Regions from separate parts of the Homo sapiens genome. Here all the other regions are linked to region 4. Evidence: promoter capture Hi-C in 16 types of primary human blood cells and fetal thymus (Javierre and others, 2016). All regions are on one chromosome and are shown on one strand. The core of a region is centred on a gene start or on the middle of the fragment in contact, and the rest is flanking DNA. Distances in the headings are between cores, read along the strand shown.

Evidence for each region. The method cuts DNA at HindIII sites, captures the fragments that hold promoters and counts their contacts. A CHiCAGO score of 5 or more calls a contact.
Region 1: a contact is called between the fragment with the promoter of RAB5C here and the fragment with the promoter of CNP in region 4, in 15 of 17 cell types (monocytes, endothelial precursors, megakaryocytes and 12 more). The highest score is 14.4, in monocytes.
Region 2: a fragment that was not itself captured here is called in contact with the fragment with the promoter of CNP in region 4 in 3 of 17 cell types (M0 macrophages, endothelial precursors and M1 macrophages); the score reaches 7.2 in M0 macrophages.
Region 3: a contact is called between a fragment that was not itself captured here and the fragment with the promoter of CNP in region 4, in 6 of 17 cell types (M2 macrophages, M0 macrophages, M1 macrophages and 3 more). The highest score is 7.1, in M2 macrophages.

What each region holds. Positions count from the first base shown.
Region 1 is chr17:42,152,728-42,159,782 of GRCh38, reverse strand. It overlaps RAB5C (RAB5C, member RAS oncogene family), which reads left to right and starts at 4,794. Exons shown (of 6, transcript NM_004583.4): 1 at 4,794-4,890. It overlaps RAB5C-AS1 (RAB5C antisense RNA 1), which reads right to left and starts at 5,383. Exons shown (of 3, transcript NR_187282.1): 1 at 5,074-5,383; 2 at 4,675-4,784; 3 at 2,860-4,015. KCNH4 (potassium voltage-gated channel subfamily H member 4) reads left to right here. Exons shown (of 17, transcript NM_012285.3): 16 at 1-52; 17 at 2,665-2,892. RefSeq lists enhancers at 1-335, 4,526-4,635, 4,518-4,812, 4,722-5,342. The HindIII fragment of the contact is 7,588 bases long and covers 1-6,057 here.
Region 2 is chr17:42,186,064-42,193,168 of GRCh38, reverse strand. GHDC (GH3 domain containing) reads left to right here. Exons shown (of 10, transcript NM_032484.5): 4 at 142-263; 5 at 427-928; 6 at 1,959-2,151; 7 at 2,266-2,337; 8 at 2,412-2,545; 9 at 2,899-2,984; 10 at 3,248-4,082. The coding sequence ends at 3,466. Among named protein-coding and RNA genes, the nearest start is that of HCRT, 4.2 kb to the right of the region's middle. RefSeq lists an enhancer at 1-187. The HindIII fragment of the contact is 6,184 bases long and covers 1-5,606 here.
Region 3 is chr17:42,203,221-42,209,830 of GRCh38, reverse strand. It overlaps STAT5B (signal transducer and activator of transcription 5B), which reads left to right. Exons shown (of 19, transcript NM_012448.4): 16 at 2,103-2,273. Among named protein-coding and RNA genes, the nearest start is that of GHDC, 12 kb to the right of the region's middle. The HindIII fragment of the contact is 508 bases long and covers 2,020-2,527 here.
Region 4 is chr17:41,961,634-41,969,070 of GRCh38, reverse strand. CNP (2'',3''-cyclic nucleotide 3'' phosphodiesterase) reads right to left here and starts at 2,276. Exons shown (of 4, transcript NM_033133.5): 1 at 2,184-2,276; 2 at 331-1,003. The coding sequence starts at 2,186. ODAD4 (outer dynein arm docking complex subunit 4) reads right to left here. Exons shown (of 12, transcript NM_031421.5): 12 at 2,568-4,078. The coding sequence ends at 3,588. RefSeq lists enhancers at 129-686, 687-1,244, 1,245-1,802, 2,904-3,003 and silencers at 1,774-1,963, 2,094-2,533, 5,836-5,985. The HindIII fragment of the contact is 2,895 bases long and covers 1,183-4,077 here.

The DNA.
Region 1 (7,055 bases), core at 3,545-6,044, 190 kb before region 4:
CCATTGGGCTGGGCAGATGAGATCCTACTTTCTCCCCAGGACCTGGAGGCAGGTAGAGATGGGGGAGCAGAGGGGATGGGCAAGGGACCCAGCTCCAGCCTAGGACATGAAGGGAAGACCAGACAGGATCTTAGCGTCTATAGCAAGAGAGACAGGTTGTAGGATTTTGCCTGAAGATAGCTTAGTGATATTGTGAGGTCTTCTGTCTCAGCCCCTGGGTCTCTGCTGAAGACCTTAAGAGCAATGTTACCTAGAGAGGGGTAGGTTTGAGATGTTGCTTGGAATTTGAGCAACCCATGATTTCTTAGGCCGCCCACCATGAGCCCAGGCTGGAGAGGCTCACCTCATCCCACAGCCCACACAGGAAACAAACGGATGGCTCCAGATATGTACTCTTCGGCTCGCGCAGCATTATTTTCAAAATATGAGTTAGTTCCAATATTAAAAATGAGACAGGGCCAGGTGCGGTGGCTCACGCCTGTAATCCTAGCACTTTGGGAGGCCAAGGCAGGCGGATCACCTGAGGTCAGGAGTTCGAGACCAGCCTGACCAACATGCAGAAACCTCATCTCTACTAAAAATACAAAATTAGCCGGGCATGGTGGCACATGCCTGTAATCGCAGCTACTCGGGAGGCTGAGGCAGGAGAATCGCTTGAATCCGGGAGGCGGAGGTTGCAGTGAGCCAAGATCGCACCACTGCACTCCAGCCTGGGCGACAGTGAGACTCTGTCTCAAAATAAAAAAAAGAGACAGGTTATATAGGAATACAGATATTCCAATTTCTCTACAAAATGTAGCACTGGGCACAGTGGTTCATGCCTATAATCCCAGCCCTTTGGGAGGCCGAGGTGGGAGGATCGCTTGAGTCCATGAGTTTGAGATCCACCTGAGCAACATAGCGAGACCCTATCTCTATAAAAAAAATATATATATATATATTTTTTTATAGACGGAGTCTCACTCTGTCACCCAGGCTGGAATGCAGTGGTGCAATCTCAGCTCACTACAAGCTCCGCCTCCTGGGTTCATGCCATTCTCCTGCCTCAGGCTCCCAAGTAGCTGGGACTACAGGCGCCCGCCACCACACCCGGCTAATTTTTTGTATTTTTAGTGGAGACAGGGTTTCACCATGTTAGCCAGGATGGTCTCAATCTCCTGACCTCCTGATCCGCCTGCCTCGTCCTCCCAAAGTGCTGGGATTACAAGTGTCAGCCACCGCACCCAGCCTATAAAAATATTTTTTTTTTTTTGAGACGGAGTCTCACTCTGTCGCCCAGGCTGGAGTGCAGTGGTGCAATCTCGGCTCACTGCAAACTCCGCCTCCCGGGTTCACGCCATTCTCCTGCCTCAGCCTCCCGAGTAGCTGGGACTACCGGCGCCTGCCACCACGCCCAGCTAATTTTTTTGTATCTTTAGTAGAGACGGGGTTTCACCATGTTAGCCAGGATGGTCTCGATCTCCTGACCTCATGATCCACCTGCCTCGGCCTCCCAAAGTGCTGGGATTATTTTGAAAAATATTTTTCAAAATATTTTTCAAATTAGCCAGGTGTAGGCTGGGCATGGTGGCTCACGCCTGTAATCCCAGCACTTTGGGAGGCCGAGGCAGGTGGATTACCTGAGGTCTGGAGTTCGAGACCAGCCTGACCAACATGGAGAAACCCCATCTCTACTAAAAATACAAACATTAGCTGGGATGGTGGTGCATGCCTGTAATCCCAGCTTCGCGGGAGGCTGAGGCAGGAGAATCGCTTGAACCTGGGAGGTGGAGGGTGCAGTGAGCCGAGATCGTGCCATTGCTCTCAAGTCTGGGCAATAAGAGTGAAACTCCACCTCAAAAATAAATAAATAAATAAATAAAAATTAGCCAGGTGTAGTGGTGAGTGCCTGTGGTTCCAGCTACTCCAGAAGCTGAGGTGGAAGGATGACTTGAATCCAGGAGTTCAAGACCAGCCTGGGCAACATAGCAAGACACCCCCCCCACCCATCTCTATACAAATTAAAAAATTAGCCAGGTGTAGTGGTGTGTGCCTGTGGTCCCAGCTACTCTGGAAGCTGAGGTGGGAGGATCTCTTGAGCCCAGGAGGTTGAGGCTGCAGTGAGCAGTGATCACACCACTGCACTCCAGCCTGGGTGACAGAGTGAGACCCTGCTCAAACAAAACAAAACAAAAAAAACCTCAGGACATCAGGCTACCGTGGGCCAACATTCCATCTGGCAATAACTGGCAATCAGCTGGGCTGGGTGGCCACTGTCCTCTTTAGATGGGATCTGCTCTGCACTCTACTTCGCAGTCACCACGTTTCTTGATCATCTCCCGACACCCAGCTAGCTTCCCTTGTTTGAAATTTTTGTTTGGTCTCTGTGGGTATTTGAGTTCTCAAAACTTGAGTGTCCATCAGAACTACCTGAGATCCTATTAAAACGCAGATTCTGCCAGGCGCGGAGGCTCAAAAAAATAAAAAAATAAAAAGCAGATTCCTGGGCCTCATCCAATTTGGAATGTCCGGGGTGGAGCCCAGGGGTTGAGTTTGCAACCTCTGCCTTACCTAACAGTGTGTTCCCAGGTCCCTGTGCCCAACAGGTGCTTTTTGGGCCCAGTAATGTCTGCTTCTACTCCTAGGCGTGGGTCTGTCAACATCTCTGTTTCTGTCTCTCTGCAGGCTGTCTCTCAAGGTGGTCTCTTCTGCTGCTAGCAACTCAAAAATCCCAACAGCACTCCCTATCCTTTCCCTGACCCCAGACCGCTGCCAAGCCTGTTCTCCCCCATTACAACATGGTCTCACTCAGGGCCTGGACTGCTCCAAAACTCGCCCAGGTCTCCAGCTCTCCTCTACCACCCAACACCCTGGGCTCACTTTTGGATAGGAAATAAACTCTTTATTTTTGTAGTTATTGGCTCTGGGTGTTTCTGGGGGTTACTCTGAGAGCCCCAGGGCTTTGGAGGAGCCAACACAGCAATCACTCCCCACCCTCACCTTCGTTGTACCCCAGGGCCCAGTTGCTATCTCTAGGAAGGGCAGAGGCACCAGCCAATCTACTTGGCACCACATTCACACCACCAGGGGCCCCAGGGTTGAGGAAGAAACTTAATTAGTCACTATGGGCCTATTATACCCCCTTCTCTCCCCTGCACCCCAGTCACAGCCATGTATGCACACAGTATGTGGGAAGGACAGAGTCCTGGCTTTGGCCCACCTCCAGCCTTGGAAAGGTGGGCCTAGGGGACTACCCATCCCTCCTGTATAAGGAACTGTTCCAGAACTGGGTATGGCAAGGGGGCTGGGGGAAGAGCTTGTCACCAGCCAGAACCTGCTAGGAATCCCACTCTGCCCCATCCCCTCTGTCCTCCCAACAAGCCCTCTCTTCCCTCTTCCTTTTCACTTCTCATGAACACTGGCGCGGAAGTGGGGATTGTGTGTTATGGGTGTAAGAAAGAGAGACGCCCTGATGACCAGATGGAACTAGATGTGGGCACAGTTTTGTGGCAGGTTGTCCAAGACAGGTAAATTCTCCAGCTGAGGCTCCAGGATATGCCTGGTGTTGGCGTTATAGGCACAATGGCCACAGCTGTCTCCGGTGAGCTTTGATTCCACACAGGTTTTCAGTAGTGTCCCTTGAGGATGAGATGCAAAAGAAGAGGAGGTACTGGTTTGTGTTGAGAGGTAAGGGTGGGAGGAATCAGGAGCGGGCCCAGTCCATATTGAGAGGAGCAGAAAAAACAAATATTCCTGATCCATAGAGGGGGAGAGTGCAGAGTGGGGGTGGTTCTAGTCTTTATTTACGGATGGAGAGGGCCGAGGCAGAGGTTGTCCAGCTCTGTATTCCGCGTCAGAGAGAAGAGCTGACCCTGGCTAGGAGCAGGGGAAGGCAGAGGCAGAGATGGTCTTTGTGCCGGCCCCCGCACACACCAAGTAGGAGGTGGTGGCAGAAGCTCTCCCTTTGATCTCACCCAGCATCCTGCAGAGAACTCTTCCTGCAGCGCTTTCCTCACCTTCCCAATCACAGACGCCCCTGGCAATCGGGCGGACAGTGCAGACAAGGGCTTCTCCAGATCAGCGAGTTCACAGGACTGAGGCCTCGCGTGCATATTCATTCGCACCACGTTTTTTCTTTCCCAATTCTGCACACACAATCCTCTGCCTTCTTCCAACGCTCCACCACCCGCCTTCCCTCGGGGCGTCCGGAACCGGCGGTGACGCGGATGGCAGGGTTAGCCTTAAAAAGTTCCCGGCCGTAGGCTGGGCGCGGTGGCTCAGGCCTGTAATCTCAGCACTTTGAGAGGCCGAAGAGGGCGGATCACCTGAGGTCAGGAGTTCGAGACCAGCCTGGCCAACATGGCGAAACCCCCGTCTCTACTAAAAAATACAAAAATTAGTCGGGCGTGGTGGTGCGTGCCTATAATCCAGCTCCTCGGGAGGCTGAGGCAGGAGAATCGCTTGAACCCGGGAGGCAGAGGTTGCAGTGAGATCGCACCACTGCACTCCAGCCTGGGCGACAGAGTAAGACTCCGTCTCAAAAAAAAAAAAAAAGTTCCGGCCGGGCTCCGCCTCGCAGTCAGCCGGCTCCACCCTAAGCCCAAGTCCCAGGCAGCCACTGACTCCTCCCAGCGCTGCGAACTACAAGTCCCGCGATCCCTCGCGCGCTCCCTACCGCCACTCCCGCGTTCCTACCGGCGCCGCTGGGTAGGTCGGCCAAGAGTGCCTCCCATTGGTCTCCGCACTGTCAATCACCTGGGAGTATTGAGGGGCGGGGCGGAGGTGGAGATCCGGATCCGGAGCGGCTGAAAGGCGGAAGTGGAGGCCGGAGCCTGGGACACCGCCGGCGGGGAGAGAAGCGGATCCCGTCCGAGCCCCGGCCCCAAGTAACGCCGCCGCCCCGGAGCCGCCGTGAGTATGCTTGTCCCAGGACCTGGTGTCTCGCCTGCGTTGAAGCATCTCCAGGGCAGCCCTTCCTCCCGCCCAGCCCCAGTTTAGGGGGATACTGACCCCTCCCCCGACCCGTAGCCCCCTCTTGAGGGGCTCCCCAGGCGTCGGGCCATAGGAGGTGGGGAGCTTCTTTCCTTAGCTTACCTGCCTTTGGTGAGCCTTAAGGAAACCGCTATGACTGTCCTCTGGCCTGTCCATTCTAGTTGTGGGAGAGAGGTACCCTAAGTTCCGCTCCCCCTGCTTCCAGAATCGGAGGATCTTTGCTAGGTGTGAAGGAACCTGTCCCTCTTCTCTTTTAGAAGTGACAGGGAGTGCTGTCTGTCGCCGTTTTCCTTCCTCCTGTCCCACAAAACCAGTTGTCCCCTCTAGCCCTAGAGGAATATCTCGATTTCCTTTGGGGGAGGGGGGTCGTCTGGGTGAGACCGTTCCACACGCACAGAAGTGTGTGTGCGCTCCCGCAACTCCTTACTTCCTCTCTTTCCTCAAGCCAGAGAACCAACCAGGACCTCAGCTGAGTTTAAAGTCACTTACTAGAAATGAGCTGTTTTCCTGTTTTGCCCCTTCTGTCTCCCAGCCCTGTCCTCTAGTTATGTTGTTCTTTGAGTGTCTCTCTCTTTCTGCCTCTGAAGAATTTAGCTGAGGTTTGCTCAATCCTAGCTACAGATCACAGATCAGGGTGGATGTGCCCATTCATTATCTTCTTTCCCCTCCCCCCTTGCTCCAGGCTCAGCTCTGTCCTCCCAGAGCACGTGAGTGGTTTCCCAGCCGCCTCAAAGGGACTGCTTTTCTTGGGACTGCTGTCCGTGTGTCTATAGGGAGGAGAATAAGACCCAAAATGAGGAGTCTGGAATTGAAGGGCCATCTCTTTCCCACTCCCAAACACACACACATACACCTCCCTGAGCAACAGGTCCACACCACGCCAGGGTCTGTCTGCAATCCCTTCAGGGCTTGGACTTATTACTGAGGACTAAGTCAAGATCACAATGGCAGTTCTGGATTTTTAATTGTAGCCTGAGGAATTCCGATACATGCCAGAAAGTGCAGGTTCCCTCAACCATATTGACTGATCCTTGTCTGTTGCTTGGGGCTTAGGTGTGTGAAATAGCTGCTGTCTCAGACCAAGCTTTGTTATGTGGCCAAAGTACAGGCCGGAGACTGTACCTTAACGAGGAGTAGCCTGGCTCTGAGGCCATGACTGACCCTTGCTATCTACAGTGGAGGAAGGGACGGAAAGCCGTGCAGTTTGTGGGAACTTCTGTAGCTCTTCAGTGTTCTGGGCTACCTTTACCACCCTCGCTTGCCACTTAAAAGTGCTGTGTTTTTTGGCCTTGAGGTGTGTTTGAGGGCTTCTGGACAGTGGCTAGTATCTGATTCCTACAGTCTTTTGAGTAGAGCTAGGATGTACTTTCTTCACTTTTTTGTTTGTTTGTTTTTGAGATGGAGTCTTGCTCTGTCGCCCAGGCTGGAGTGCAGTGGCGTGATCTTGGCTCACTGCAACCTCTGCCTCCTGGGTTCAAGCAGTTCTCTTGCCTCAGCCTCCTGAGTAGCTGGGATTAACAGGCGCCTGCCACCACACCCGGCTAATTTTTGTATTTTTAGTAGAGATGGGGTTTCGCCATGTTGGCCGGGCTGGTCTCGAACTCCTGACTTCAGGTGATCCACCCGCCTCAGCCTCCCAAAGTGCTGAGATTACAGGTGTGAACCACCGTGCCCGGCCTACTTATTTCACTTTTTATCGGACAACAGAAGAAGCCTTCCTTATTAGGGTCAACAGCTGGATCACAGGCTCTGTATCTGTGTGGGTTCCTTTGGGGTTCATTGGAGACTTCTTCAACCAACCTAGTTTCTCTGATCTGGTCAGCCTGGGCATCTGAGGGGCAGGGCCAGAGAGGCCTGACTGCTCACTGGCCATTGGTCTCTGACCAGACTTAGGTCTTCAGGAGTAGACCGCAGTTTGTCACTCTTCAGGAGTGCTGGGATGAGGCCGACCAGCCTTCTGAGGAGACCTTCTTTTCTTTGTCTGGACATGCTCTCCCAGCTCTGACTCTGAAACGACTTTTTTTTTTTTTTTGGAGACAGAGCCTTGTTTTGTCACCCAGGCTGGAGTGCAGTGGCACAATCTT
Region 2 (7,105 bases), core at 1,265-3,764, 220 kb before region 4:
ATGAATTTCCCATGCTGGGTCCTTACATCCTCTCTACCCCAGGCCTATTCTCGGTTCCTCCCTCAAGGGTCTCACCAGTCTTGCCTGAAACTCTTGGGAAACTGGCTTCCTGAGGCGTTTCTGTTGTCATTGGGGCTATAGACATAAGCACCTTCCGGAATCATCTCCCTCTGACCAAGGCCAGCCAGACCCAGCAGGAAGACAGTGGAGAGCAGCCACTGCCCCCGACCTCAAACCAGGACCTTGGGGAGGCCTCTCTGCAGGTAATCTAGGATGGCCAGAGCCCAGTCCTGGCCACAGCCCAGTCCCACCAGAGACCTCTGACTTGCAGCCAAACCCTCCAGTCATGGTGGGCAAAGAACCCCCAAATGGGGGCTCTGGGTCTGGCTCTGACACCAGACCAACATTCTCTCTTTCCTCCTCCAGGCCACCTTGCTGGGTCTGGCAGCCCTAAACAAGGCCTACCCAGAAGTGCTGGCTCAGGGACGCACTGCCCGTGTGACGCTTACATCCCCTTGGCCCCGACCCCTGCCTTGGCCTGGGAATACCCTGGGCCAGGTGGGCACCCCTGGAACCAAGGACCCTAGGGCCCTGCTGCTGGACGCACTGAGGTCCCCAGGGCTGAGGGCACTGGAGGCTGGGACGGCTGTCGAACTTCTGGATGTTTTCTTGGGCCTGGAGACTGATGGTGAAGAGCTAGCTGGGGCGATAGCTGCCGGGAACCCTGGAGCGCCTCTCCGTGAACGGGCAGCTGAGCTCCGGGAGGCCCTAGAGCAGGGGCCACGGGGACTGGCCCTTCGGCTCTGGCCAAAGCTGCAGGTGGTGGTGACTCTGGATGCAGGAGGCCAGGCCGAGGCTGTGGCTGCCCTCGGGGCCTTGTGGTGCCAAGGACTAGCCTTCTTCTCTCCTGCTTATGCTGCCTCGGGAGGTCAGTGGGACTCAAGGGCAGTGAGGTGGGGGCAACGGTCAGTGGTCACATGACAAGCAGCCATGCATTGGGCCCTACATAATCATCTCATTTAATCCTCCCCAACAAGCTGCATGCTAGGGCCAGCAGCCTCCTTTTACAAGTGAAGAAATTCAGGCTCTCTAGGTTAAGAGTCTTGTAGCTGGGTGCAGTGGCTCACGCCTGTAATCCCAGCACTTTGGGAGGCCAAGGTGGATGGATCGTTGAGGTCAGGAGTTCCAGACCAGCCTGGCCAACATGGCGAAACCCCATCTCTACTAAAAATACAAAAACTAGCGGAGTATGGTGGTGCACGCCTATAATCCCAGCTACCTGGGAGGCTGAGGCGGGAGGATTGCTTAAACCTTGGAGGCAGAAATTATAGTGAGCTGAGATCGCGCCATTGCACTCCAGCCTGGGTGACAGAGCAAGACCCTGTCTCAAAAAAAAAAAAAAAAAAAAAAGGCCGGGGCAGTGGCTCACGGGTGTAATCCCAGCACTTTGGGAGAGGCTGAGGTGGGTGGATCACCTGAAGTTAGGAGTTTAAGACCAGCCTGGCCAATGTGGTGAAACCCTGTCTCTACTAAAAATACAAAAATTAGCCAGGTGTGGTGGCAGGCGCCTGTAATCTCAGCTACTCAGGAGGCTCAGGCAGGAGAATCACTTGAACCCAGGAATCACTGAATCACTGAGCCGAGATCGCACCACTGCACTCCAGCCTAGGTGACAGAGCGAGACTCTGTCTCAAAAAAAAAAAGAGTCTTGCACAAATTCATGTGGCACCAGGATTCACTCCCAAGTCTGCCCCCTCCAGGACCACAGCACTCTGCCTCTTTCCAGTGAGGGCCTAAGAGGCAGCCCGCTGAGGCTGGGGGAGCCAGGAAGGATGTGGTGGAAGGGCAGCAGGAGGATCAGGTGCTCAGAGGATCAGGCCTGGGATCCAGGAGGGGCTATTGCCTGGCAGAAAGCGATGGCACCAGCAGACGCTGAGGAGGCTGCTTTGCTTTCACAGGGGTGCTGGGCCTAAACCTACAGCCAGAGCAGCCCCATGGGCTCTACCTTCTGCCCCCTGGGGCCCCCTTTATCGAGCTGCTCCCAGTCAAGGAAGGCACCCAGGAGGAAGCTGCCTCCACCCTCCTTTTGGCCGAGGCCCAGCAGGGCAAGGAGTATGAGCTGGTGCTGACGGACCGCGCCAGCCTCACCAGGTGATCAGCTGCACAGCCCCTGCTACCTGGGGCCCTATGGGACCGTGCTGGGGGCCTGGGGCATGAGCTCAGAAGACCTTGGGCCCGACCTCACTCCCACTTGCACCCCATCAGGTGCCGCCTGGGTGATGTGGTGCGAGTGGTTGGTGCCTACAATCAGTGTCCAGTCGTCAGGTTCATCTGCAGGTAGGTGACCCCGGGGAGCTGAAGGGCCATCCTTGTGTCCTGGGCTCCACTGCCTCTCCCTTCCTCCTCTTCAGGCTGGACCAGACCCTGAGTGTGCGAGGGGAAGATATTGGTGAAGACCTGTTCTCTGAGGCCCTGGGCCGGGCAGTGGGGCAGTGGGCGGGGGCCAAGCTGCTGGACCATGGCTGTGTGGAGAGCAGCATTCTGGGTGAGCCTCCCCACCGGCTCCTGCCTACCATCCTTGAGCTACCCTTCAACTCCTACCTCCCCTGCCAGGGGACTGCTAGGAAAGAGATAAGCCTCCTTTACTACTCCTACAAAAGTCCTTCTCTGCATCTAACTCTCATCCATCCTGCTGCAGTCTCTACCCATTTTCTTTCCTGATCTGTCTCCTATTTAGGATCAAGCTCTAGGTTCCTCTCCATTTACCCCACTCCCCACCAAGAAACTCTTTTTTCCCTATGAATCTCAGAGTGGGGAAGAACAGATAGGGCAGAGGACACTAGACTTGGCAGCTGCCCATTCACCGGAAGTATGTGTGCACATGGGGTCTATTCACAGATTCCTCTGCGGGCTCTGCTCCCCACTACGAGGTGTTTGTGGCGCTGAGGGGGCTGAGGAATCTGTCAGAGGAAAATCGAGACAAGGTAAAGGAGACGAGGACAGGGTCTGACTGTAGACCCCTTCACTCTGCACACTCCCAGGGTGCCATGGAGATCAGGGCTGATGGGAAGGAGAGGGGTGGCGGAGGAGAAGCTCCCTGGGGCTCTGGGAGGGGAGGGCTAAGTCCCACAGACACACACCTGTCCACACAAAACTTCTAAACACATGTAGCCTGGGCACAGCCACACACGCCTCGTGTGCACACTCACAGTCACACACCAGCTCACTCAGGCTGTTCTGTTCCCAGCTGGACCACTGCCTTCAGGAAGCCTCTCCCCGCTACAAGTCCCTGCGGTTCTGGGGCAGCGTGGGCCCTGCCAGAGTCCACCTGGTGGGGCAGGGAGCCTTCCGAGCACTCCGGGCAGCCCTCGCTGCCTGCCCCTCCTCCCCCTTCCCCCCTGCGATGCCCCGGGTCCTTCGGCACAGGCACCTGGCCCAGTGTCTGCAGGAGAGGGTGGTGTCCTGAGTCAAGTCCTGCCCCACCGCCCAGCTCCCCCCAGAGGCCACCTCGCCCCTCCCTCTGGGACCTCTCCGGATGGGGAGTCCTTGGCCAGGGTCTCTGACTCTGTGTCACCTGACATTTGCCCATGAGAGCCGCTGGGCCTTAGAGAGGCCTTGGCCCAGCTGACCGGTTCTGAAGTATGGGCCTCCGGGGTTAGCAGATGCCAGCAGTGCCTGCCCGTGTCCCCATGTCCCGGCATGAAGGACACTGCTAGAGAGTTACCATGCACACCGATGGTTTCCTGTATCACAGCCCAAAGAGGTTCTCTGGTGGCCACAGCTGTGTGCTCAGTCAGTGCACTGGGCAAGCTAGAAGTGTTGGGGGGTTAATGTCCCCAGGAGCAGCAACCCTGAGTCAATAAGGAGCAGGACCTCAGCTTCATTGTCCTTGAGCAGGACAATTCTGAAGTGTATTCTACATAAACTCTCAGAGGATGCCCAGCAGGATGGAGTCCCAGTTGCCCGCAGCAGTAACCCACTCATTCATGTACTTCCTGCGGGGGCTCTCCCTTCCCTCTCTTCCCCACTCCCCCGCCTTGGGCTTCCTGGGATGGCTCCCAAATAAACCTCTTGCACCCAGATTCTTGCCTCAGGGTCTGCTTTGGGGAAACGGGAGTGGACCCCGGCCCAGCCATTCCCCCACTGAGCTCCAGGACTTTCCCCCAACATTCTGCTCTGGGCCTGGCAAGGCTGCATGCGCACACAGGAGCCTTGGAGGACTCGTGGCACATCCTAGGCCAGCACCCACAAACCACTTCTGCGGTGGGGAAGGGAGAGCTATTACTTCACATCATAAGGCATCGCCGCAGGAAGCAACTCCGGAGACCATCTGGGTTCACTGTTCCATACTAATGAGGAAACGCAGCCTCCACAAGGTTGTAGAGGCTAAAATAAAAGAAAGAAAGAAACTGGGCTAGATTTTGGCTTCCTTCCCTCCCACTGCCTGGACTGGAGTTTTAAGGTTTTCCATCTTGGAGGCTGATGGGAGGGGCAGACCTCAGCTCCTCCTCAGTAGAGGCAGCACTGGATCCAGATGCCTCTGAATAGCTTCTCCATTCCATGTCCCACACCCAGGTCCTGGCTGCATACCCACCCGGCCCCCACCTCCGCCTGTCACTCCATCCTGTTAAAATCTTCCTGTGAAGCTGGGCACAGTGGCATGGGCCTATAGTCCCAGCTACTCAAGAGGCTGCGGTGGAAGGATGGTTCATGCCCAGGAGTTCAAGACCAGCCTGGGCAACACAGCGAGACCATCTCGGGAAAAAAAAACAAAAAAAAAAACCTCCCATGGTGGCCCCCATCGCCCACAGGATTAAGACCAATCAATTTGGCCTATTAGACCCTTTGACCTTGGCCCTCACCTACATGTGCAGCTACCTCTCTCCCCTTGCTTGAAAGAAGGCCTGGACTAAGGACCACGCCTCACCTCCCATCTAAGGGTTGTTAAGCACTGTCAACTCCAGGAGTTTGCTCAAGTTGTCCCTTCTATGTAATGCCCTCTATCCCGCTGCCCCTGATGTAAACTAGCTTTCATGCAAGGCCTTTGAGGACCCCCTACCAGGCCCACCCCAGGCAGAGTGACTGGCTCAGCTTTGCTCATGTGGGCAGTAGTCCTCTCCTTCACTGAACTATCATTATGCCTGAACTGCCTCCCACCTGGAATATGAGTTCCTTGGAAACTGGGCTAGATCCTGTGCACAATTGCCCCCATGCCCAGTGCCTGGTGTGGCATGCAGCAGGAGCTCAATAAAGAGGTTGTAGGCCAGGTGCCATGGCTCATGCCTGTAATCCCAGCACTTTAGGAGGTCGAGGCAGTCAGATCACCTGAGGTCAGGAGTTCAAGACCAGCCTGGCCAACATGGTGAAACTGTGTTTCTACTAAAAATACAAAAAATTAGCTGGGCATGGTGGTGTGCACCTGTAAACCCAGCTACTTGGGAGGCTGAGGCAGGAGAATTGCTTGAACCCAGGAGGCAGAGGTTGCAATGAGCCAATATCGTGCCTTTGCACTCTAGCTTTGGCAACAAGAGTGAAACTCTATCTCCAAAAAAAAAAAAAAAAAAAAAAAAAAAAAAAAAAAAAAAAGAGGTTGTGAATAAGAAGCTTGGGCCTGGAGATGACATGTGTTCTTCAATGCATGGCGGCTCACTCCGTGTTGACTGTAGAGTGGGACTACATTCCTCCCCTCCAGGTAGCCTGAGCCAGGGAGAAAGCTGGGGAGGTAGAAGCTTTCTATCAGCCTCTGGTAGAAACTGAGTTTGGTCAGGCACAGTAGCTCACACCTGTAATCCTAGCAGTTTGGGAAGCTGAAGGGGGAGGATGGCTTGAGCCAGGGATTTGAGACCAGCCTGGGAGTCCCAGTCTCTACAAACAAATTTAAATATTAGCCAGGGATTGTGGCATGCATCTGTGTGGTCCCAGCTACTTGGGTGGCTGAGGTGAGAGCATTGCTTGAGCCGTGGCATTTGATGCTGCAGTGAGCTATGATTGTCCCACTGCACTCCAGCCTGGGTGACAGAGTGAAACCTTCTCAAGAAAGAAAATAAAGAGGGCTGGGCGTGGTAGCTCACGCCTGTAATCCCAGCACTTTGGGAGGCCGAGGCGGGCAGATCACGAGGTCAGGAGATCGAGAACATCCTGGCTAACACAGTGAAACCCCGTCTCTACTAAAAATACAAAAAATTAGCTGGGCGTGGTGGCGGGCACCTGTAGTCCCAGCTGCCAGGAGGCTGAGGCAGGAGAATGGCGTGAACCCGGGAGGCGGAGCTTGCAGTGAGCCGAGATCGCGCCACTGCACTCCAGCCTGGGCGACAGAGTGAGACTGTCTCAAAAAAAAAAAAAAAAAAGAAAGAAAAGAAAAAGAAAAGAAAATGAAGAAAGAGAGAAGGCCAGGCATGGTGGCTCATGCCTGTAATCCCAGCACTTTGGGTGGCTGAGGCAGGCGGATCACCTGAGGTCAGGAGTTCCAGACCAGCCTGACCAACATGGAGAAACCCTGTCTCTACTAAAAATACAAAATTAGCCAGGCATGGTGGCGCATGCCTGTAATCCCAGCTACTCAGAAGGCAGAGGCAGGAGAATTGCTTGAACCCTGGAGGTGGAGGTTGCAGTGAGCTGAGATTGCGCCATTGCACTCCAGCCTGGGCAACAAGAGTGAAACTCCGTCTCAAAAAAAAAAAAAAGAAGAAGAAGAAGAAAGAAAGAAAGAGGGAGAGAGTGAGAGAGAGAAAGAAAGAAAGAAATGCAGGAAGGAAGGAAGAAGGAAAGAAGGAAGGAAGAAAAAAAAAGCGGGGGGGCCTGGTGCAGTGGCCCACGCCTGTAATCCCAACACTTTTGGAGACTGAGGTGGGTGGATCACTTGAGGTCAGGAGTTTGAGACCACCCTGGCTAACATGGTGAAACCCTGTCTCTATTAAAAATACAAAAATTAGCTGGTTGTGGTGGCGTGTGCCTGTAATTCTATTCAGGAGCTATTCAGGAGGTTGAGGCAGGAGAATCGCTTGAACCCAAGGCGGAGGTTGCAGTGAGCCAAGATGACCATACCACTGCACTCCAGCCTGAGCAACAAGACCAAAATTTAGTCACACACACACACACAGAAAAG
Region 3 (6,610 bases), core at 1,024-3,523, 240 kb before region 4:
TTTCAGTGAAGAATTTGATGATTTGGAGTTCTTACAGTAGTAAAAATATTCCTTTATCCTAATTAACATATGGATATTGCCATCAACCATTTCTACCCAAGATGTTAGTTCTTTTCTTTTTTTGAAACAGGGTCTCACTCTTTTGCCCGGGCTGGAGTGCAGCGGCACAAACATGGCTCACTGCAGCCTTGACCTCCTGGCCTCAAGCAGTCCTCCTCCCTTAGCCTCCCGATTAGCTGGGACCACAGACGTGCACCACCACACCCATCTAATTTTTAAATTTTTTGTATGTTGCCCAGGCTGGTCTCGAACTCCTGGGCTCAAACAATCCCCCACTTTGGCTTCCCAAAGTATTGGGATTACGGGCTTGAGCCACTGCACCAGGGCATCAGGAAAGTTAGTTCTCTCCTCTGACCCTCACAATAAGGGTAGCTTGCTGGTTCATTTTCTGTGAATTAAAGTTTTTAATAACTTTTGGCTGGGTGCGGTGGCTCATGCCTGTAATCCCAGCACTTTGGGAGCCTCAGGCAGGAGGATCTCTTGAGGCCAGGAGTTCAAGCCCAGCTTGGGCAACATAGTAAGACCCTGTCTCTAAGTAAATAAATAAATAAATAAGTTAATTAGGTGGGCATGGTGGTGCTCATGGTGTGCGCCTGTAGTCCCAGCTACTCTGGAGGGTGAGGTGGGATGATCACTTGACCCTGGGAGTTCAAGGTTACAGTGAGTCATGATCACATCACTGTACTCCAGCCTGGGCAACAGAGTAAGACCCTGTCTCTTAAAAGAAAAAAAAAAAAAGGCTGGGTGCGGTGGCTCACGCCTGTAATCCCAGCACTTTGGGAGGCCAAGGCAGGCGGATCATGAGGTCAGGAGATCGAGACCATCCTGGCCATCACAGTGAAACCCCCGTCTCTACTAAAAACACAAAAAAATTAGCCGGGTGTAGTTGTGGGCACCTGTAGTCCCAGCTACTTGGGAGGCTGAGGCAGGAGAATGGCGTGAACCCGGGAGGCGGAGCTTGCAGTGAGCCGAGATCGCGCCACTGCACTCCAGCCTGGGCAACAGAGCAAGACTCCATCTCGAAAAAAAAAAAATTCATCACTTTTAATAGCTCTTATGCTTTCTCTGGTTGTGGGCATGCTTCCTAGCTTTTATATATCTTTGTATGGGAAATCAGGGATTGGGGGCCAGTAAAAACTGTTTCTTCTACTGAGGGCTAGAATACTGTTTGAACTTGAAACGTCTGAGATCATTGGATCTCTTGGGAAGTGATTTTTGTATTACCTGCTTATCTACCCATGGCTTTTATTTTTATTTATTTATTTATTTATTTATTTTTGAGATGGGGTCTCTGTCACCCAGGCTGGAGTGCAGTGTCATGATCTCAGCTCACTGCAACCTCCACCTCCCAGCTTCAAGCCATTCTCCTACCTCAGCATAGTACCTGGGACTACGGATGAGTGCCACCACACTTGGCTGATTTTTGTATTTTTAGTAGAGACAGGGTTCATCATGTTAGCCAGGCTGGTCTTGAACTCCTGACCTCAGGTGATCCACCTGCCTAGGCCTCCAAAAGTGTGGGATTACAGGCATGAGCCAACATGCCTGGCCCCTACCCATGGCTTTTAAAACTATTTCAGGCCGGGCACGGTGGCTCACGCCTGTAATCCCAGCACTTTGGGAGGCTGAGGTGGGTGGATCATGAGGTCAGGAGATCAAGACCATCCTGGCTGACATAGGGAAACTCCATCTCTACTAAAAATACAAAATTAGCCAGGTGTGGTGGCGCGTGCCTGTAATCCCAGCTACTTGGGAGGCTGAGGCAGGAGAATCGCTTGAACCAGGGAGTTGGAGGTTGCAGTGAGCCAAGATCGCACCACTGCACTCCAACCTGGTAACAGAGTGAGACTCCGTCTCAAAATAAGTAAGTAAGTAAGTAAATAAATAAAAGTATTTCATCTATAACCCATGGTTATTTTTAAATGGAGATTTCTATTGGAGCCATTATAATGGCAAGCTTGAATTTATAGTATGTTGGGGTTTTAAGATTTCCTAATTCAGAAATCATGTTTAGAATGTGATTGTTCTGTTTATTGATCTAGAGGAAAGAATGTTTTGGAATCTGATGCCTTTTACCACCAGAGACTTCTCCATTCGGTCCCTAGCCGACCGCTTGGGAGACTTGAATTACCTTATCTACGTGTTTCCTGATCGGCCAAAAGATGAAGTATACTCCAAATACTACACACCAGTTCCCTGCGAGTCTGCTACTGGTAACAATGTTCGCATTCTGATTTGATTTTGTTGTGTGTGTGTGTGTGTGTGTGTGTGTGTGTGTGTGTGCATACCTGCGTGTGTTATCTCTCTTGTGTGAAAACCCACACAATTACCATTCAGTGAGAGCAGTTTGAGCATTTTCCAGGGCAGATGTAAACCTTGGGCTGGATTCTTCAGTCATACAGAAAACACATCTACCACTAACCCCAAATATCAAATTGAAGAAAACAAATTCTTTTTAATACAAGCTTAGATCAAACAAAATTAGGTAAAATTTTGTTTTTCATGACAGAGATGGTTTTATTGCTTTCTGAGTTTAGAAGTATTACATATTTATTATAAAATTTTCAGAAGACACATAAAGGCATAAAAAAGAAAACAGGCTGGGTACGGTGGGTCATGCCTGTAATCCCAGAACTTTGGGAGGCCAAGGCAGGCGGATCATTTGAGGTCAGGAGTTCCAGACCAGCCTGGCCAACATGGTGAAACCCTATCTCTACAAAAAATACAAAAATTAGGTGTGGTGGCAGGCACTTGTAATCGCAGGTACTCGGGAGGCTGAGGCATGAGAATCACTTGAACCCAGGAGGTGGAGATTGCAGTGAGCTGAGACCACGCCACCACACTCCAGCCTGGGCAATAGGGTGAGACTCAGTCTCAAAAAAAAAAAAAAAAGGAAGGTCGGGCGTGGTGGCTCACACCTATAATCCCAGCACTTTGGGAGGCTGAGGCAGGCAGATCACCTGAGGTCGGGAGTTCAAGACCAGCCTGACCAACGTGGAGAAACCCCACCTCTACTGAAAATACAAAATTAGCCTGGCATGGTGGCGCATGCCTGTAATCCCAGCTACTCGGGAAGGCTGAGGCAGGAGAATTGCTTGAACCCGAGAGGTGGAAGTTGTGGTGAGCTGAAATCGTGCCATTGCACTCCAGCCTGGGCAACAAGAGTGAAACTCTGTCTCAAAAACAAAAGAAAAGAAAACAAAAAAACAGATACCACACAACATCTCTCATCTAGAGATTAACCTCTATGGATGATTTAGTGACTATTCTTGCACTCTATATATAGATATGTATTATACATTGCATCACCCGTTGCTTGAACTTCCTGTGTGGAGGTTATCTAGCAGCAGAACGAAGACCATAAACAAGGAAACATATTCAGGCCGGGCGCGGTGGCTCATGCCTGTAATCCCAGACTTTTGGGAGGCCGAGGCAGGCATATCACCTGAGGTCAGGAGTTTGAAACCAGCCTGGCCAACATGGTGAAACCCCATCTCTACTAAAAATACAAAAAGTAGTCAGGTGTGGTGGTGGGCGCCTGTAATTCCAGCTACTTGGGAGACTGAGGCAGGAGAATCGCTTGAACCAGGGAGGCAGGAGAATTGCTTGAACCAGGGAGGCAGAAGTTGCAGTGAGCCGAGACTATGCCACTGCATTCCAGTCTGGTGACAGAGCGAGACTCCATCTCAAAAACAAACAAAACACAAATATATTAATTTAGTGATGGGCGCCCTGAAGACAAATAAAGCAAGGTAGAGGGATAGAGAAGTGGCAGGGAGGAGAGTGGAGGTGTTATTTTACTAGAGTGGTCAAGGAGGGTTTCTCTGAGGACATGTTTGTTTTTTTTGTTGTTGTTTTGTTTGTTTGTTTGTTTGAGATGGGGTCTCACTTTGTTGCCCAGGCTGGAGTACATTGCTCACTGCAGTCTCAAACTGCTAGACTCAAGGGATCCTCCCACCTCAGCCTCCCACATAGTTGGGACTACAGGCATGCACCACCAATCCTGGTTAATTATTTTATTTTTATAGATATGGGGTCTTGCTGTGTTTCCCAGACTGGTCTCAAATTCCTGGGCTCAAGCAATGTTCCTTCCTCAGTCCCCCAAGGTTCTGGGATTATAGGCATGAGCCACTCTACCTAGCCAGGATGTGATGTTTGAAAAGACCTGAATGAAGTGAGGAAGCTAGCCATACAAAGATCTAGAGAAAAACATTGTATGCCAAGAGAACAAGTACAAAAATCCTGGGTTGAGAATGGCCATGTCTGGAAAGCCTCAGGAGGGCCAGGGAGGCTGGAGCCTCTTGAGCAGGGAAGATAAGTGGTAGGAACTGAGGTCAGGACACTCCAGCCTTGGAGTTCAGGGTGAAAGGTTGGAGTCTAGACCATATCATATGTAATTTTTTGTGACTTTTTTTTTTTACTTGGAAATATATCCTAGGTAGCTGGGCATGGTGGCTCATGCCTGTAATCCCAACACTTTGGGAGGCCAAGGCAGGTGGATCACTTGAGGTCAGGAGTTTGAGACCAGCCTGGCCAACATGGTGAAACCCCATCTCTACTAAAAAACATACAAAAATTAGCCGGGCATGGTGGCAGGTACCTGTAATCCCACCTACTCAGGAGGCTGAGGCAAGAGAATCACTTGAACCCGGGAGGCGGAGGTTGCAGTGAGCCAAGATCACACCACTGCACTCCAGCCTGGGCAACAGAGCGAGACTCTGCCTCAAAAAAAAGAAATATATCCTATGCAGAGTTACAGCTCAGTAAATGTAATCTTCCAACCTCATTTTGATGACTGCATACAATCCCACTGTATGGTGAGTTACATGTTGGTTATTTAAGATACTTATAATTTGGGCCTGGGCACAGTGGCTCATGCCTGTAATTCCAGCACATTAGAAGGCGGAGGAGGAAGGATTGCTTGAGCCTAGGAGTTTGAGACCAGCCTGGGCAACATAGTGAGACTCCATCTCTACAAAAAAGAAAAAGTTAGCTGCGCTTGGTGGCGCATGCCTGTAGTCCCAGCTACTCAGAAGGCAGAGGCTGGAAGATTGGTTGAGCCCAGGAATTTGAGGCTGCAATGAGCTATGATTGTGCCATTGCACTGTAGCCTATGTGACAGAGTAAGACCCTGTCTCAGAAAAAAATAAAATCCTATTTCTGGCAGCATTTCTTTGTTTTTAACTTCTTAGCCAATCTATAAAATACTCTGTACACTGTAAAGCACAAAAAACATGTTATGAAAAGGTCGCTCCTGACACTTGAAGCCCTAGAAGAAGATTAGGGTAATAAGCAATTGGTGAACCCTGCAGCGTTTCACCCTCTTGGGCTACTTAAATGACAAGCTCCTTGTCCTATAATCATAGTGTGATCGTCCTTGCCTAGTATAATTAACTTTGTACTGATTCCCATATTCACGTACCCAGAAACAAGACTTCATTCTCCCATGTCAGATAATCACATTCTTACCACCTGCTTACCTGGATTTCCATAGTCAGCCTTCTGAAAAGGTAACTGTGGTTGACCAGATCACGTGCAGGTTTATCTGCTCATCTGCCACATCCCAGTGGGGATTCTGTGGGAAGCAAAGGACACATCGCATTCTTGGCACCAACAGCACTCACTGGGACTAGTGACATCAAAGTACCCCAAATGCAGAAACACCAGGCGTGAAGGAGCGTGCAGGTGCTGGGAAAAGTAGCCTTCCCTTTCCTGAAAGACTAGACACTCAGAGTTAGAGGAACCTCAGACATCATCAGATCAGATCAGCGGCTCTCCAGTGCCTAGGCCTTTCCATTAGATCCCTGACGTGTATGCACCTCCTGCTTGAAAACCTCCGGTGATGGCCAGGCACCGTGGCTCACACCTGTAATCTCAGCACTTTGGGAGGCCAAGGCGGGTGGATCACTTGAGGTCAGGGGTTCGAGACCAGCCTGACCAACATGGAGAAACCCCATCTCTACCAAAAATATAAAAAGTAGCTGGGCATGGTGGTGCGCACCTGTAATCCCAGCTACTCGGGAGGCTGAAGCATGAGAATCACTTGAACCCAGAAGGCAGAGGTTGCAGTGAGCTGAGATCGCACCACTGCACTCCAGTGTGGGCAACAGAGTAAGACTCTGTCAAAAAAGAAAAAAAAGAAAACCTCCAGTGACAAGGAAATCAGTCCTTCCTAAGATAAATCATTTCTTTTCCTGGCAGTTCTACTTAGAACATTCTTCCCTGCATGACTGAACATTTGTCCTCTTATGACCTGCCCCTCCTGGTCCTGATTTTATCCCCTGGGTCAGGTAGAACAAATCCTGTCTCTCTGCTGCATCTTGGACTTTAAGCTTTTCAAGGTGTTTTTTTTTTTTTAATTAGTATGCAATTAGTGCTTGACTTAGATTTGTATTGAAGTACATAGTTTCCATGGTTTGAAGAATTTATTGAAACATCCAAGCCAATTTGGAAGATATCTTGAATTTCAGTTTTAGTGCTGACCTTCTCCTCTACCAGGTCTTCCTAACAGATTGAAATATTAAATGCTTGGCCAAGTGCGGTGGCTTAT
Region 4 (7,437 bases), core at 1,027-3,526:
CTGTTACTACAGTAATTTGTTTTTCCCACCTCCAAGACAAGGGACAGTGGTCTACATTCAGGCTGGGAAAAGGGTGTCGGAGAGAAGAGGGCTAGAAGGATAGGTGTGGTGGGAGGAAAGGCGCTCTGGGAAGCCCCCGTGTTCCCAATGTGCTGCCAACTCCCCAAGGCTACCACTGGGACGCACCGCTTGCCCCTGCCCCCGCTGAGGTGAGCCTCTCTCTGCCTCCTGCTGCTTCGTGCTCCATCCTTTGAGTACAATGATGGTCCTTTGCCCGCAGCACCCTGTGCCCAGCAAGGTGGGCTTATAAGGCCCCAACCTGCCACCTACATTGTCGCAGCTCCTTCTTGAAGGCCTTGTGGTTCCCCAGCTCTTCCAGGAAGACCTGGCCGGCTTTGCGGAGGGTCTCAGAGCTCTTCTTGGTCAGGAACCAGCCGAAGTAGAGCGGCAGGAAGTCCTTCTCCAGCCCAGGCTTCAGCTTCTTCAGGTCATCAGCCGACAGCTGCCACTGGTTCTTCTCCTTGAGCTGGGCACAGTCCAGCCGCCACGCCGTCTTGGGCTCCACCAGCACCACCTGGTACTGGTACTGGTCGGCCATTTCAAAGAGCTGCTCCAGCCGTTCCCGTTCGTGGTTGGTGTCATCAAGCACAAGAATTCTGATGTCCCGGCGGCGGCAGTAGGCAGCCAGGTCCTCATCGAGCCGCTTGTACTCCTCGGAGAAGGCTCCTCGAGCGCCGGGGGTGATCTTGTAAGCGTCAGCCGACACCATCTTGGTGCCATCACGGTACTTGTCCACGATGACCCGTGCCAGCGTGGACTTGCCGCTTCCTGGCAGGCCGCGCAAGATGAAGAGCGTCTTGCACTCTAGCAGCGTGGCCACTGTGTCCTCATCCTGAAGGAAGGGAAACTGCAGCTCAGGCTTGTCCTTGGCCCCTGAGGATGACATCTTGCGGAAGAAGATCTTGGGCAGGAATGTGTGGCTTTTTCGGGAGAAGCCTCTGTTCTGTGTAAGGAGGGGAAGAGATGTCAGCCCAGGTCATTCGCGGGCTCCCCGCCGGCCTTACCCCTAGTCCCTAGACTGGTTGTGGGTGCCTTCCCAAGCGGGGCAGTGCTGGACCTTCTTTCCCTTTCGGTCCGGGAGCACCTTTCCGCTTCTGGTCGTGGAGGAGGAAGAGGGAAGCTTGTCTGAAGCTCTCCTAAGCGTGCGCTTTCCCCATTCCTGCCACTTCGGAAAGGTAAACGTGCTGGAGGCATGCGGGGCGCGCCAGGAGCCTGCGGTTCTGGGACTGGCCTCACTCTTATATGCTTGGCACCTACTAAGGACGTCCTCTTTGGAGGTGGGGGTCTCTGTGTCTGGGCCAAGCCACAGCTGCCACGGCTGAGTGCACAGAGAAGGGGGGGAGTGGAGAAGGGTTACCCCAAGACTGCCTCCCTTCCCCCAACAATGGCCGCAACAGATAATACTCTCTTGTCTGGCATGCGGGTACAATGGTCCCACAGAAGGGCTGGTGGGGGGCAGGGCAGGAGAGCACTGGACAAAGGCCCTCTTTCACCAAGCCTGCCACCTCCTCCTCTACCCTCTCCCGGCCCCCACAAAGTCGTGGTCTTTGTGCCTGTCCAGAACAGGGCAGCACAGGGCACCTGCAATTAGGATCCAGCTCTACCCGCCGCTGTGCTGTGTGTCAGAAGCGCCTCTCGGAGCCACTTGTTTTCCTATCTTCTAGAAGCCACAAGGGACGGCAGCTTTTACCGTAAAGGGTCCCCTCCTCTGAACTGGCTCCACCTCCCGCCCGCACCCGGGCGCGGGGCAGCGGTTCCGCGTGATGAGACTGGGCCCGGGGAGGGGGCGCCGAAGCGGCTGCCCCAGCGCGGGCCTGCGTGGGGTCGGGAGCAGCTCCCGGGCTCCCGGCCCAGGCCCACCCAGGCTCCCAGAGGCGCAGCAGCTTCTGCGGTCCCGAGTTCCCTCCTGAGAAACACCACCGTTTCCCTTTACAGCGGCCTCTCCGGCACCCCAAAACCCCTCCGCTTCTCCCAGACCTCAGGGCCGCCCTGAGTACCAAGAAAACTGGAAGTCGAACCCGGAGCCCCGGGTCCTCGTTTGCAAGACGCTTCCTCCCGAGGGGCCCCGACACTCGTTTCCCGCCCTGGTGCTACCCCGTGCCCGGCCCCGCCCGGCCTCTCACCATGATGAGGAGGGGCGCCACCGTCGCCGCCTCTGCCGGCACCAGCGCTCCGGGGCCGCCCGCCTGCGCGGAGGGACACGGGAGTCCAGCGGTGGCACGACCCGAGCCCGGCCGCTTTACATAGCCCGGGGGGCGGAGCGGGCACCCGGGCGGGCTGGGGGCGGGCCGTCTCCTCTGCGCGCAGGCGCTGCGAACCAAAACCCGAAACTCTCGCCGCGCGCGGGAACCTCGGCCCGGTCCCGCCCCCTGCGCGCGCCTGCTCCCCACGCGCACCCACCCACTGCGCCTGCGAGCTGAGCGGCCACTAGCTTTTTCTGCGTGTTGAGGGGTAACTCAGTCACCCTCCCCGGTCCCGTGGATTAGCAGGAAGTGAGTGAGGCAGGGTCGTGCAAAGTCGGATCCTGTCTTTAATTTTTGATATTTTATTCATCATGGACTTTTGCATTAATTAAAAACTTTTTTTTTTACCACATTGGATTAAAATATTATCATGCAATTTGCTGGCATTCCGGTAAACTCTGCATCTGAAATGCCTCACTGGCCTCATTCGTCCAGGCCCTGTGCCAGCCGAAAGTCAGTCTCAGCCCCGACCTTTCCTTCTAGGAGCTGTGGAGACAGACCAGGATGGCAATGGCCAAAGGGACAGATGAGTAACGGAGTGAAATCCTAACATCCTCTGAGGCCAGATCCTCAGCTGCCACCTCCTCTGTGAAACCACTGAGAGCTCCGTTGGATTTTTGAGTTTCCTGTCCAAGTGCTGTGCTAAGCACTCAGTCCTCGCAGCAACCCCTGAGGCAGGTATCCCATTGTTCAGAGGAGAAGCCAGCTTGGAGAGCCTGATTTACCTGATTATGCCACCCAGAGGTGTCAGAGGCGGAGTCTGTCTGCCCTCCCGACTCCCAGGCCACTCCCCTATCTTTGGCCTCACTCCCAGCATTCGCTTGGTTCTGGCTTGCGGCATTCTCCTACCTGTGACAGCTGGGGCCGCCCCACCACTGTTCCATCCATAAAGCCTCCCCGCTGTCCTGCGCACTGGAGGGACTCAGTCAGTCACCGGTGTGTGGGAAGCACCTCTCCTCCCAGGCCTTCCCCTCTCCTCCCTGTGACTTCTTGTTCCCTGTAGCGCCCGTATCTTCACCCTCCTGAAACCCTTTCTTCTTGGCACCTTTCTCATTTCTTCCACGATGCTCTTCCAAGAATGGGCAGGGGTGAAGAGGCAAAGTGACAGACTCAGGGTTTGCAAGAGTGAAAGACACCTATTTAATGGCAAAATAGTGATGGAAAGCAGCAGAAGTAAAACCCTCATTTTTCCTATAACAGACAAATCGCTTGAAAATCCAGTTTAATAAAATCCCATGATCCCTCTGAACACCAGCTTCCTGATCCTCATCTCTACCGATGGCTTCATTCATATTCCTTTTCCATCTCATTTCCTGTTTTTTTCGTTTCTCCTATTTCTCCAAATTGTGTTTTTCCCAGTTCTTCTGGCTCTCTTCTGCCCACTTCTGAAAGTTTCTTTAGTTCTTCTGGTTCCTGTCTGCTGAATTCTCCTGAGAGTCTTTGCTCTAATTCTCCCGAAGGCCTCCTATAAATTTCTCTTGACTCTCTTCTGCCAGCTTCTAGTAGCTTCCTGCCTGTTTCTCCTGATCTTGTGCCTAATTCTCCTGACAGGCCCTTGGCAACTGCTCCCAAATCGCTTCTGGCTTTTCCTGCTTCCACACTCTGCTTTCCGCTTGCTGGGCTCTGCAGAGCTTCCCCAAAAGCCTCATCGTCCTCATCTGTCTCTTTCTCATCCTCACTATGGTCCCACTGCTTCACCACCTTCTCGGGCTCATCTCTCACTCTCCTCATGTCCTTCTCTCTTGTTATTATTCTATCTTCATACAGTGAAGCTTCTGAAAAATAAGAGAAAAGCGGGAAGAAAGATAAAAGTTTGTTCATGTCAGGCCGGGTGCGGTGGCTCACGCCTGTAATCTCAGCACTTTGGGAGGCTGAGGCAGGCAGATCCCTTGAGGCCAGGAGTTCCAGACCAGCCTGGGCGACACAGTGAGACCCTGTCTGTACTAAAAATACAAAAATTAGCCAGGCGTGGTGGTTGGCGCCTGTAGTCCCAGCTACCCGGAGGCTGAGGCAGAAGAATCGCTTGAGCCCAGGAGGTTGGGGCTGTGATGAGCCAAAATCCAGCCACTGCACTGCAGCCTGGGTGACAGAGCAAGACCCGTCTCCAAAAAAGAAAGAAGAAAAAAAAGAAAGAAACTGTTCATCTCTGTGGAGGCCTGTGCTTTTGAGAGGCCGATGAGAGAAAGGCCCTGAGAATGACTGTTTTTGCCAGCTCTTTAAATTGGTGTTGACAGCACACCTTTCCAAAAGCAGAGAAAGGGAACCATCATTGACTGAGCCCAGCTCCGTCCTGTGCATCACGTGAGGGCTGTATAGCTTATCCCATCCAGACATCATGAAAATGCGCACTGCCGTTGATTTGAGTTTGCAGTCAAGGGACCTGAGATCGATAGAAAAGAAATCACACGGCCGGGCGGCATGGCTCACGCCTGTAATCCCAGCACTTTGGGAGGCCGAGGCAGGTGGATCACCTGAGGTCAGGAGTTTGAGACCAGCCTGGCCAACAAGGTGAAACCCCGTCTCTACTAAAAATACAAAAATAAGCTGGGCATGGTGGCAGGCGCCTGTAATCCCAGCTACTTGGGAGGCTGAGGCAGGAGAATCGCTTGAACCCAGGAGGCGGAGGTTGCAGTGAGCCAAGATTGTGCCATTGTACTCCAGCCTGGGCAACAAGAGCAAAACTCCATCTCAAAAAAAAAAAAAATTAACCGGGAGTGGTGGCACAAGACTGTAGTCCCAGCTACTCAGGAGGCTGAGGCAGGAGAATCACTTGAACCTAGGAGGCGGAGGTTGTAGTGAGCCGAGATCGCGCCACTGCACTCCAGACTGGGTAACAGAGGGGAGACTCCATTTCAAAAAAAAAAAAAGGCACAGTGGCTCATGCCTGTAATCCCAGCACTTTGGGAGGCTGAGATGGAGGTTGCAGTGAGCTGAGATCGCGCCACTGCACTCCAGACTGGGTAACAGAGGGGAGACTCCATTTCAAAAAAAAAAAGGCACAGTGGCTCATGCCTGTAATCCCAGCACTTTGGGAGGCTGAGATGGAGGTTGCAGTGAGCTGAGATTGCACCACTGCATTCCAGCCTGGATGACAGAACAAGACTCCGTTTCAAAAAAAAAAAAAAAGAAAGAAAAGAAATCACACAATGGTCACACTGCAAGTGTGCAAGTGAGACAGAATTTGAACCCAGGACAGTCTGACCCCAGAACACCTCTTTTCCCTGCAAGAAATAGCATAGGTGCTGGAAAATGACAGAAGGATTTTCTCCAGCATCTTCATTCTGACACTTTCTCTTTGTCCCTGGGAAGCACATTCATTATTTGTTGGGAGGTTTCCTATGAAAATATAGAAAAAACATAAGGAAAAAGATAGGTTTCCTATAAAGATATACGCTGCTAACAAAAAGTTCAGCTGAAGAGTTATTTTACAAGCAAAGGGATCCTTGCTCCTAAATTTTTTTTTTTATCAGTTATGGAGAAAAGTTACATCCCCTTCTGCGTCTCCCTTACATTCTCCTCCTGGAAACCACTAGTTACTGAGGTATCTGCAGAGGGTCTCAGGTCTCAGGGGGTCACAGCCCTTTGGTGGTGAAAACAGATGCAATGCTGCCACCTGCTGTTCTGAGAGGGACGTGCCCGGCAGTTCTCCAGGCACAAGGACGCAGGCCAGGGTAGGGAGACTGGGGTGTTGGCTGCTTCCCCGCAGAGTCTCTCTCCACAGCTGTTGCTCCTGTGGCTTCTCAGAGCAGCTCAAAGGGCATGTGGGGGCGGAGACAGAGCCCCTCTGAGGGGGTCCAGCCACCACAGAGCAGGTGCTGGATAATAAAGGGCTGTCATCTGGCTGCTCAGGTGCCCAGAAACCTCCCGCTGCCCTGCCTGGACCAGAAAGGATTTCAGCCTTGCAGCCTGGAGGGCTGCAGCCAAGAATCTGCATTGGGCTCTGTCCTCCCGGACCTCCAGCCCCAGCTCTGTTCACTGCAGTCTGGCTGGAGTGAGAGCTCCACAGACTGGGGCAGGAAAAGGCTGTCTGTGTCACTAGAAACAGTGTGGCACGGGCCGACGCGTGGGTTCTAGAGCAGACTGCCCAAGACTGAAAACCACTGTAGCCTCTAACCCCTCTGCCTCCATGTCCTCCATAAAGTCAAGCTAATAACACTTCCTTCATAGTGTTCCTGAACAGATACAGATAGGATGAGTCCGTGCACACAGTCTTTGAAAGAATGCCTGGCCTGCGGGAAGCATGAATGGGGGTCGGCTACTGCGCTTAACACCCCTGTTCCTCTAGGCCCCTCTCCAGTGGGGTAGGGCTGCTCAGCCATCTTCTGCTTCTCCTTCCCTCACTCCCTCCCTGCAGGAAAGGAGAGCCCAAAGGCAGGGGGCCAAAGGCCTGTTTACTCCCTGGAGACCTTGTGAGAAAGAATGTGGTAAGGCACAGCTGTCAGGCAGCCTCTGCACCTTATGCCCCTCTGCACCTGCCCATCACACTGCTGGCCCGAGAGCAGCGCCGCAGGTGGGGAGAGTGGGGCCCCGAGTCACCCCTCCCTAGCTACATGACTCTGGCAGAGCACTCACCTCACTCAGCCTCCCTTTCCCCCCACAGCACCTACACCTCCTAGTGGGGTAAAGACCCAACAAGATCACTCCTGTCTGGTGCTTAACCCAGTGCCTAGCACACAGTAAGAGCCCCCAAAGTGTAGCTACTGTTATTCTGTCTCTGTGCCTCTGGCCCTGCTGTTCCCTGCTGGAAAAATGCCTTTCTTCTCCCACTTCTCTCCTGGAAAACTCCTGGGCATCTTTTGGAGTTGGAGGTAGAAGATTTTTCCTCGTCGAAGCCTCCTCTGCCTCCCCAGAGGAGCCCACGCCCCGTTGCATGCACCCTCATGGCAGCACACCTCCACCTCGGTGTAGCACCTGTGTGCAGGATCCCAGCAGCTGACAACTCCACTGGTCAGCCTTGCCCAAAGGGCCATGGGCTCCTCCAGGGCAGGGATGGGCCTCTCTCCCCAGAATCTAACACCTTCCAGGTACATGACAAGTGCTCACCATATACTTGATGAATCAATTGAAGAGAGAAATGAGTGCGCTCTGGGGCCAGACAGTCCAGCCCATGGTGGGCTGAATCCTCACCCTCTAC